Linked DNA regions of Homo sapiens: region 2 is linked to region 1. The links are contacts of gene promoters, found by promoter capture Hi-C in blood cells and fetal thymus (Javierre and others, 2016). All regions are on one chromosome and are shown on one strand. The core of a region is centred on a gene start or on the middle of the fragment in contact, and the rest is flanking DNA. Distances in the headings are between cores, read along the strand shown.

Region 1 (4,331 bases), core at 1,437-3,936:
CCATAGAAGAACTGCTCTGTATCAGGTAATGTCAAATAAAATCCCTAAACAGTGCTTCTCCTCTACTTATTATTACCCTGATAAAAATAACTTCAGTAATTTTTGTCTTGGATTTACATAGCAGTTATATGTAAGGCATCTGCATTATATATTTAGGAAATAATACAACATTCCTTTATTCCTCTTAGTTGAAACTGCCTATATTGAACACTGGCAAAAGACTTCTAATAAAACACATTCTAAACCTGAAACAAAGGCGATATCTAAATAACCGACATTACATAGTAATTACATTCCTCACTATTTTCCTAAAACCATCATTTTCGATGTCTGCTTCTATAAAAAAAGAAACCAGTCCAAGAGGTGAGGAGATACAACCTATAAACATTGAAAAGGAGGTTTTAAAAATTCAAATACAAAACTGCTGGGTACAACCATAACAAAGCATGTGCATTCGAGTTTGAAAAGTAGGTAGGGCAGTATTAACATATCCTAAGTACTGTGAACAACTAGCCTGATCATTAGTTTAATTTTCACATCCCTCAGAGTAGGAGGCTGTCCCCCAACTCCCACCCCCTATTGCTTCCCACTATTTGTTTCAACCTTTTAATAGATACACTTGCCTCCCACCAGGACACACAGTGTCTGGTTTAAATAGGTTTATCTCTCTCCTTAGCTTGTCCTGGAATTACGCCTAAAGCTCAATCCTGGCAGCTTTTAGGATAAGAAATCTAATTGGAAAGAGCTCTTAGTTTTGCGACTCCAAAACCTCTTTTGAAAATTTAGTTTGACCTTCCAACTATCTCCAACAGATCAAAGTTAAACAGTCCAGATTCCAAACCTAGTATAGTTCCTTTAAATCTGCATTGTAAACATTGATACTGATATGCTGCCAAATCTAAAAAAGTTTCTTAGCTCCTTGAGCTAAAATGAAAAACCAGTAGTCCAGGAAAACGCAAGGGTCTATCAAAGAAATATTCTTATTAATCTAAAACACGGGTCTCCAAAAGGATCCCTGTCCCTTTCAACTTCTTGTGGAGGGGGAAGTGGGGGAGGTTTGAAGAAGCCCCTTCCAACTTTTCACCTGACCTTTTCATTAAGATCAGGAAGCCCCTCGCTTTCAAGACATCCACATCAGACTCTAAGGAACGAATGCGAAGCCAGCGGGCCAGTGAGAAGAGGTCAGGCCGCGCAGGTCTCTTGATCATTCCAAGATCTTTGTCCTGCAGCCAGCCCCACCAGCCCCTCCAGCTCCTCCAGCCCATGCGTTTCACTTCAGAGATGTTTCATGACATAATCCGGCTCCGGAGTCCCCCGGAGTCCCGGGGGCTCACACTCCACCCTCAGGGAGGTCGCTGATGCCAGACCCTGGGAGCACCTCCCCGCTCCACTCGTCTGCGCTGCAGCCGGTTCCTATTTGCCCGACGCCGCGACTGCGACCCAGGCTCCCCGCCGCAGCCGTTCTTGGGGGGGCTCCCGCAACTCAGCGGGCGCGACCCCCCGCCCGCTCCCTCGCTGCTCACGCCGGGCCCCCGCTATGTGACTGGGGGCCCGACCCGCACCCATGGGGCACCGCTCCTCCCTCGGGGTCCGCGCCTGCACCCGACGCTCAAAGCCCCTCTCGGAGTCCCACGCTCGCATGCGCTGTCCCGAGCCCTCTGGGGGTCCCCTCCTCTCACCCCGCTGTCCTGGCCCCTCTCGGGGTCACCCTGCTCCCACCCGCTGTCCCGGCCTCTCTCTAGGTGTCCTGCTCTCAGCCCCGCTGTCTCAGCCCAGCCCCCTTCCGGGACCCCTCCTCTTCTCCCACTGTCTTGGCCCTTCCTGGGGTCTTCTCACACTCTGTTCTAAGCCCTCTGGGGATCCCCTGTCTTCACATCCCCTGACCGGTCCCCTCTCTTTACTCTGTCCTGGATTCTCTCTGGGTCCCCTCCCCTCACCTCGGGGTCTCCTCTCCCCGGGTGCTGTCCCAGCCCCTCTCGGGGTCCCCATCTCTCAGACTCTCAGTGCCGGCCCCTCTCGGGGACCCTTCCCCTCTCCCCGCTGTCCCTGACCTTTTCTGGGACCTGGTCCTTCAGGGGACCCCCTCCCCTCATCCCCCTATCCTAGTGCCTCATGAGGCACCCACCCCTCACCCCACTACCCCAGCCCCTCTCCGGGTCCCTTCCTCTCACGCGCACTGTCCCGGCCCCTCTTGGAGACCCCTCCCCTCAGACTTTCAGTCTTGGACCCTCTCGGAGTCCTCTCCACTCAGAGCCACTGCCTCGGTCCCTCTCGGAGTCCCCTCTCCTCACCCGCTGTCCCGGTCCCTCCCGGGGTCTCCTCTCCACAGTCTGCACTGTCGAGCCCGCTCCCGCAACTCCCCTCACTCTGCCTGGGGTCCCGCCGCCTCGGCTCCCACTGTCATGCCCCGCGCCCCGGTGCTCTCACCTCAGACCTGCTGTCACCACCCCCGGGCCCGGCGCCGCCGCCGCCGCTTCCTCTCCCACACTTGTTCCTGAGTCGCTCTCCTGTGGCTTGTTCCCCGGCGGATCCTTGGGTCCGGTCGCTGAGTGCCGGATCCGGCTGTGCGCAGCCTCTGCTCGCGGTCTCGGCGTTGCGTCCCACTCTCCACGCAGGACCCCGCCGCCCGGCGCCACAAGGACCCTCCCGCGGCCGCCGCCGCTGCTGCTGTCCGAGGTGCGGCTCCTGCCAGGGGTGGCCAATCGCACCGGACTGCGCCGAGCACGCCCCGCCCCACCGTCTCAGTCCGCCCGCCCCCTGCCCCGGACCACGCCCCAAGCTCGGCTCCAATAGGCTCTCTACTGACCTTCCCTGATCGCGGGGCACAGGGCCGGGGCCGTATATAGGTATTTGATTGATGGAGCCTGGGAAGCCGAGCGGTCGATGGAACCCGAGGATTGGCGGAGTTGTCGATGGGCGGGACAGGGCAGGGCGGGGTCTCCTCAGACGCGGAAGACCTTGCAACTTTAGTAACCTACGGGCCCGCCTGGGGTGCGGTCAGTCTTGTTTGTGCTGCTCTCCGGTCAAAGTTCATGGCGCTTCTCCCCACGCCTTTACTTTTCTTGGGAGATTCCCAGGGACCACCATGTTAGAGCCTTTGGGGAGGACCCCAGTCTCTCGCTAGACCTTGCACAGCTTTCTTAGTAATTCTGCCATGAACTAATATAGCATTAATTTGCCCAGGATTTGTAAAAATTTCCTGGATTTAAACCATTTCTTTTTAAAATCTCTTGCAAGGGAGTTGCCTCTCCTTGAATTGAGTTCAGCAGCCGTCAGTTTGATACCGTTGGGGGAAAAAAAATCTATATACAGTACTAGGTGCATACTTTGCCCAACTAAGCGTTCAATGCGGGGCACATTTTGATAGGTGCAAGGACAAAGCTTTAGAAATTTTCAGTTTGTAGGTTTTTATGACAGTAGGAAGACTGTGGTAGGGGAACCCTATTATTAGCTTAACAAGGTTTCAGCAAAGCTATTCAATATAACCTTTTTCCAGGGCCACAGGTTTTAATGATTCTATGTGAACGTGTGGCCAAAGGATAACGAGCTTTGACCCAGGTTTAACATGTGATAATCAGAGACTCCTCTTGATCCACGCTAAAGGATAGTGCCTGCCAGGGGTGAAAGTGCATCATGCTACTAAGACCCATTTGTGTTATTTTTGTGAAACTGGATATGCTGATCAAATCAACACCGGAAACAGAAAACTGCTTTCCTTACTCTTAACGCCAAAAGTAAGTTTATGGACTTTAGAATTTAGCATTTTATGAAGAAATTGTCTCAGGAACACATTTTGATCCTAAGTTTTGTCAGATGTATACAGGCCTTAGTTCTCAGAGAACCCTCGATTGTTAACTTTTTAACTCCAGCTGACAAAATGTGTTTGTGTTCTAAACAGTATACATGTTTCTTCTAGTGTTTTAAGAATCATACGCCATTCATCACCTGAGGTCAAGGGTTCCAGACCTGCCTGGCCAACATGGTGAAATCCCGTCTGTACGAAAAATACAAAAATTAGCCGGGCATGGTGGCACCCACCTGTAATCCCAGCTACTAGAAAGGCTGAGGCAGGAGAATCACTTGAACCCGGAGGCGGAGGTTGCAGTGAGTCGAGATCGCATCACTTCACTCCAGCCTGGGTGAAAGAGCAAAACTCCGTCTCAAAAAAAGAAAAAAAGAAAAAGAAAAAAAAGAATCATACTCCATTCCAATTGTGATGTCCCCCTTTAAAGTTTCAGTTTGGGTGTTAGGGTAGGCAGAGAAGGCCTGGAAGCAAAGAAGTTGTGGAAATGGGGCTGGCAGGGCTTCGTTTCAAGTCAAGTCGAGTTCCT
Region 2 (3,887 bases), core at 1,091-3,590, about 10 Mb after region 1:
TCAGGTTTCATGGTGCAGGTTTCTATTAAATAGGTCAGTGATGCTCTGCTTGGGTTTAGCAGTGAGGAGCCCTTTGTGTTCCTGGCTCTGTTGGATGAACCAGCATCCCAGTATGGGAGAGGAATGAAGGAGGTGATTTCACATAGGGATTAGTGCTATTAAGAAAGCAAAACTAGGAGGCTGAGGCAGGAGAATCGCTTGAACCTGGGAGGCAGCTGTTGCAGTGAGCCAATTGATCTGGGATCACGCCACTGCACTCTAGCCTGGGTGACAGAGCCAGACTCCATCTAAAAAAAAAAAAAAAAAAAACAACAACAACAACAAAAAAAACAAAAAACCTAGGGCAGGCTTTCATGGCGGCTCAAGCCTGTAATCCCAGCACTTTGGGAGGCTGAGATGGGAGGATTGCTTGAGCCCAGGAGTTAAAGACCAGCATGGGCAACATGGTGAAACCCTCATCTCTACAAAAAAAAATTTAAAAATTAGCTGATGTGGTGTGTGCATGCCTGTGGTCCTAGCTACTCAGGAGGCTGAGGCAGGAGGATCAGTTGAGCCCAGGAGGTTGAGGCTGCAGCGAAGTGACATTGCACCACTGAACTCCAGCCTGGGTGGCAGATCAAAACTCTAAAAAATAAAACAAAACTGTTAACGGAAAGAGGTCCTGATCCAGAACCCGATAGAGGGTTCTTGGATCTTGCACAAGCAAGAATTCAGGGCGAGTCCTTAAAGTGAAAGCAAGTTTATTAAGAAAGTAAAAAAATAAAAGACTGGCTACTCCATAGACAGAGCAGCCCCAAGGGCTGCTGGTTGCCTTTTTTTTTTTTTTTTTTTTTTTTGAGACAAAGCTTCATTCTTTCGCCCAGGCTGGAGTGCAATGGCGGGGTCTCAGCTCACTGCAACCTCTGCCCCCCGGTTCCAGCGATTCTCCTGCCTTACCTTCCGGAGTAGCTGGGATTACAGGCGCCTGCCACCACACCCAGCTGATTTTTGTATTTTTAGTAGAGACAGGGTTTCACCATGTTGGCCAGGCTGGTCTCGAACTCCTGACCTCACGTGATCCTTTGGTCTTGGCCTCCCAAAGTGCTAGGATTACAGGCATGAGCAACTTCGCCTGGCCTTGGTTGTCCATTTTTATGGTTATTTCTTGATGATATGCTAAACAAGGAGTGGATTATTCACACCTCCCCTTTCCAGAACATATAGGGTAACTTCCTGGCATTTCCATGCATTTGCAAACTGTCATGGTGCCGATGGGAGTGTAGCAGTGAGGACAGCCAGAGGTCGCTCTCGTTGCCATCTTGGTTTTGGTCGGTCTTGGCTGGCTTCTTTACTGCATCCTGTTTTATCAGCAAGGTCTTTATCACCTTGTATCTTGTGCCGACCTCCTATCTCATTCTGTGACTTAGAATGCCTTAACCATCTGTGATTGCAGCCCAGTAGGTCTTAACCTCATTTTACCCAGCCCTTATTCAAGACTGAGTTACTCTGGTTCAGACGCCTCTGACAAAACTAGATAAAGTGATTGAGAGGCATGATGATGGCTGAGATGCTTTAGAGAATGTGGTCTGGGAGGCTGTCTCCGGAGATGACATTGAAGCTAAGACCGAAAAGAGGCTGTCACTGAGATCTGGAGGGATGGTCCCAGGAAGGAATAATGGTGAGAACACAGGTCCTGAGCTGTGTGAGAAGCAGAAAGGCAGCCAGGGTCACTGGACTATAGAGAGTTTGGGGCCAGTGCTAGGAAATGAGTCAGAGAGAGAGGCCAAATCTGGCTTGTACATGTGGTGGGGAAAACACTTTGTGCTTAAGAAGTAATTACCACTAAAAAAAACAAGAAAACAAAAAAAGATGGTGAAACCCCATCTCTGCTAAAAATAAAAAAATTAGCCAGCTGTGGTGGCACAGACCTGTAATCCCAGCTTCTCGGGAGGCAGAGGCTCAAGAATCGCTTGACCTGCAAGGCGGAGGTTGCATGAGCCAAGATGGCGCCACTGCACAACAGCCTGGGAGACAGAGAAGACTCCGTTTCAAAAACAGAAAAGAAAATCAAAAACAATGTTGAGTGACCGAAGAACCTGAACGGGCACAGAGTTAGAAGCTTCAGGCAAAAAGGAAATATTACCTGTTATTTAATATTTTGCTCCTAACTTGAGCTGTAAACCCACATCTTCCAAGGGCCCAAACTCACATCCACCCACAAGGTCACGTTACTTTTGTCCCAACTCAGAGGTGAATTAATAGAAAAAATAACTATGTTAGCTGCCGTCCTGAGATTCACTCCCCCATCATTCTGTTGGTGGTGCACTTTTGAAAGTGCCTGTCTTGCTAGGCCTTGGGGCTACAAAGGGGAAGGAGGCGGGCAGGGTTTATGCAGAAGGTTGACTTCAGCTAAACTGGAGTGGAGGGCCATTTAGTCACTTCGTTCTTTCTTTTCCTGGCTGTGCAGAAGCAGAATAAAGGCTGCTATTCAGGCTTTGATGTTTATTCAGACCAGGCGTTTGTTGTCCTTCACCTCAGGAAGGATTGCTGGGGGAAGAAAAAGAAAAAAGCAGAAGTTGCTTGAAGACATCTTCTGCCTTGTGAAAGCTTAGTCTCCTTGAGGAAATGATGCTGGTGTCCTGGACGGGCGGGGAGGGAGGTTCCCTTGGTGACTGAGAGTCCCTGTGATCTAATCAGCAATGAGCAGTGAGGACTGGATGTTCTCCTCCAAAATCTCTGCCAAAGACCCCGGAGACCACCTTCAACTGACCCTGGACACTTGGTGAAGGAGTTCCCCAAATACGTAAATCTGGAGTTCCCATCAGCCTGGCAGAATAGGAGGTCAGAATTAGGTAAGACTGAATTTAAAGAAAAAAAGAAGGGGTTCTATTCTTGCACAAGTTGGTCATTGTAAAGCAACACCCCATCTATAAGTAAGGGTGCTAAATCCTCATGAATGTATTGGCCTGGGAAGCACAGAATCCTCTGGGGACATATAGGTGGGGACCGATCCCAGATCAGAGGTCAGGGAAAGCCTTCTCGTGCCTTCCAAGCCCATTCCCTGTTGAAAAATGGCAAGGTCCAGACCAAGTTTGCTTTGTGGCTCAGTGTTCTTTTTCATAATGAGGATGCCAATATGGGTTGTGAATGGAATTAAAAGAGTTAATACACTTTCAGCGTTTTTAAAGCAGTGTCTGGAACATAGTGAGGACTAAGCTCTGATTTTTTTATCTTGCCCAAATTCCTGTCTAAGGGGTCTGGGAGTCATGCCCTACAAACCATAAAATCCCATCAGATGGGTTTTATTTGACACTGTATATCGTGACTTACCTTCCAGTCTGACTCTGGCATAACATTATGAGACAAGAAAAAAAATCAAAATATTTAACCCCAAAACATGCTTCTGTGCCATATCTTGAAATGGCCCTGCAGAGCCATCCTTTGTGGGAGGAAAATCTGCATCTGTAAAGAATTTCTGCCGGGCCTGGTGGCTCACGTCTGTAATCACAACACTTTGGGAGGCCAAGGCAGGTGGATCACTTGAGGTCAGGCATTGGAGACCATCCTGGCCAACATGGTGAAACCCCGTCTCTACTAAAAATACCAAAATTAGCTGGGCGTGGTGGCACACACCTGTAATCCCAGCTACTTGGGTGGCTGAGGAAGGAGAATTGCTTGAACCCAGAAGCAGAGGTTGCAGTGAGCTGAGATCACACCATTGCACTCCAGCCTGGGCAACAGAGGGGGACTCAGTCTCAAAAAAAAAAAAAAAATCTCCATTAACATAGCTAGATCTTTTTCTTCCATGCCCTCCCAATCCTGAAGAGATTAACTAAAAGTCTAGCACCTTTTAAAGATCTGAAGAGGAAAAATTTGTCATTTATTGTTTCTAAGGGCAGCCACCGTAA

What was found. The method cuts DNA at HindIII sites, captures the fragments that hold promoters and counts their contacts. A CHiCAGO score of 5 or more calls a contact.
Region 2: a fragment that was not itself captured here is called in contact with the fragment with the promoter of TAOK3 in region 1 in 1 of 17 cell types (M0 macrophages); the score reaches 6.5 in M0 macrophages.

The regions. Positions count from the first base shown.
Region 1 is chr12:118,370,221-118,374,551 of GRCh38, forward strand. TAOK3 (TAO kinase 3) reads right to left here and starts at 2,687. Exons shown (of 21, transcript NM_016281.4): 1 at 2,428-2,687. RefSeq lists silencers at 1,527-1,616, 1,717-1,776, 2,561-2,810 and an enhancer at 3,131-3,180. The HindIII fragment of the contact is 12,374 bases long and covers 1-3,379 here.
Region 2 is chr12:128,854,935-128,858,821 of GRCh38, forward strand. The region is part of intron 1 of GLT1D1 (glycosyltransferase 1 domain containing 1); the gene reads left to right. Among named protein-coding and RNA genes, the nearest start is that of GLT1D1, 3.4 kb to the left of the region's middle. The HindIII fragment of the contact is 488 bases long and covers 2,097-2,584 here.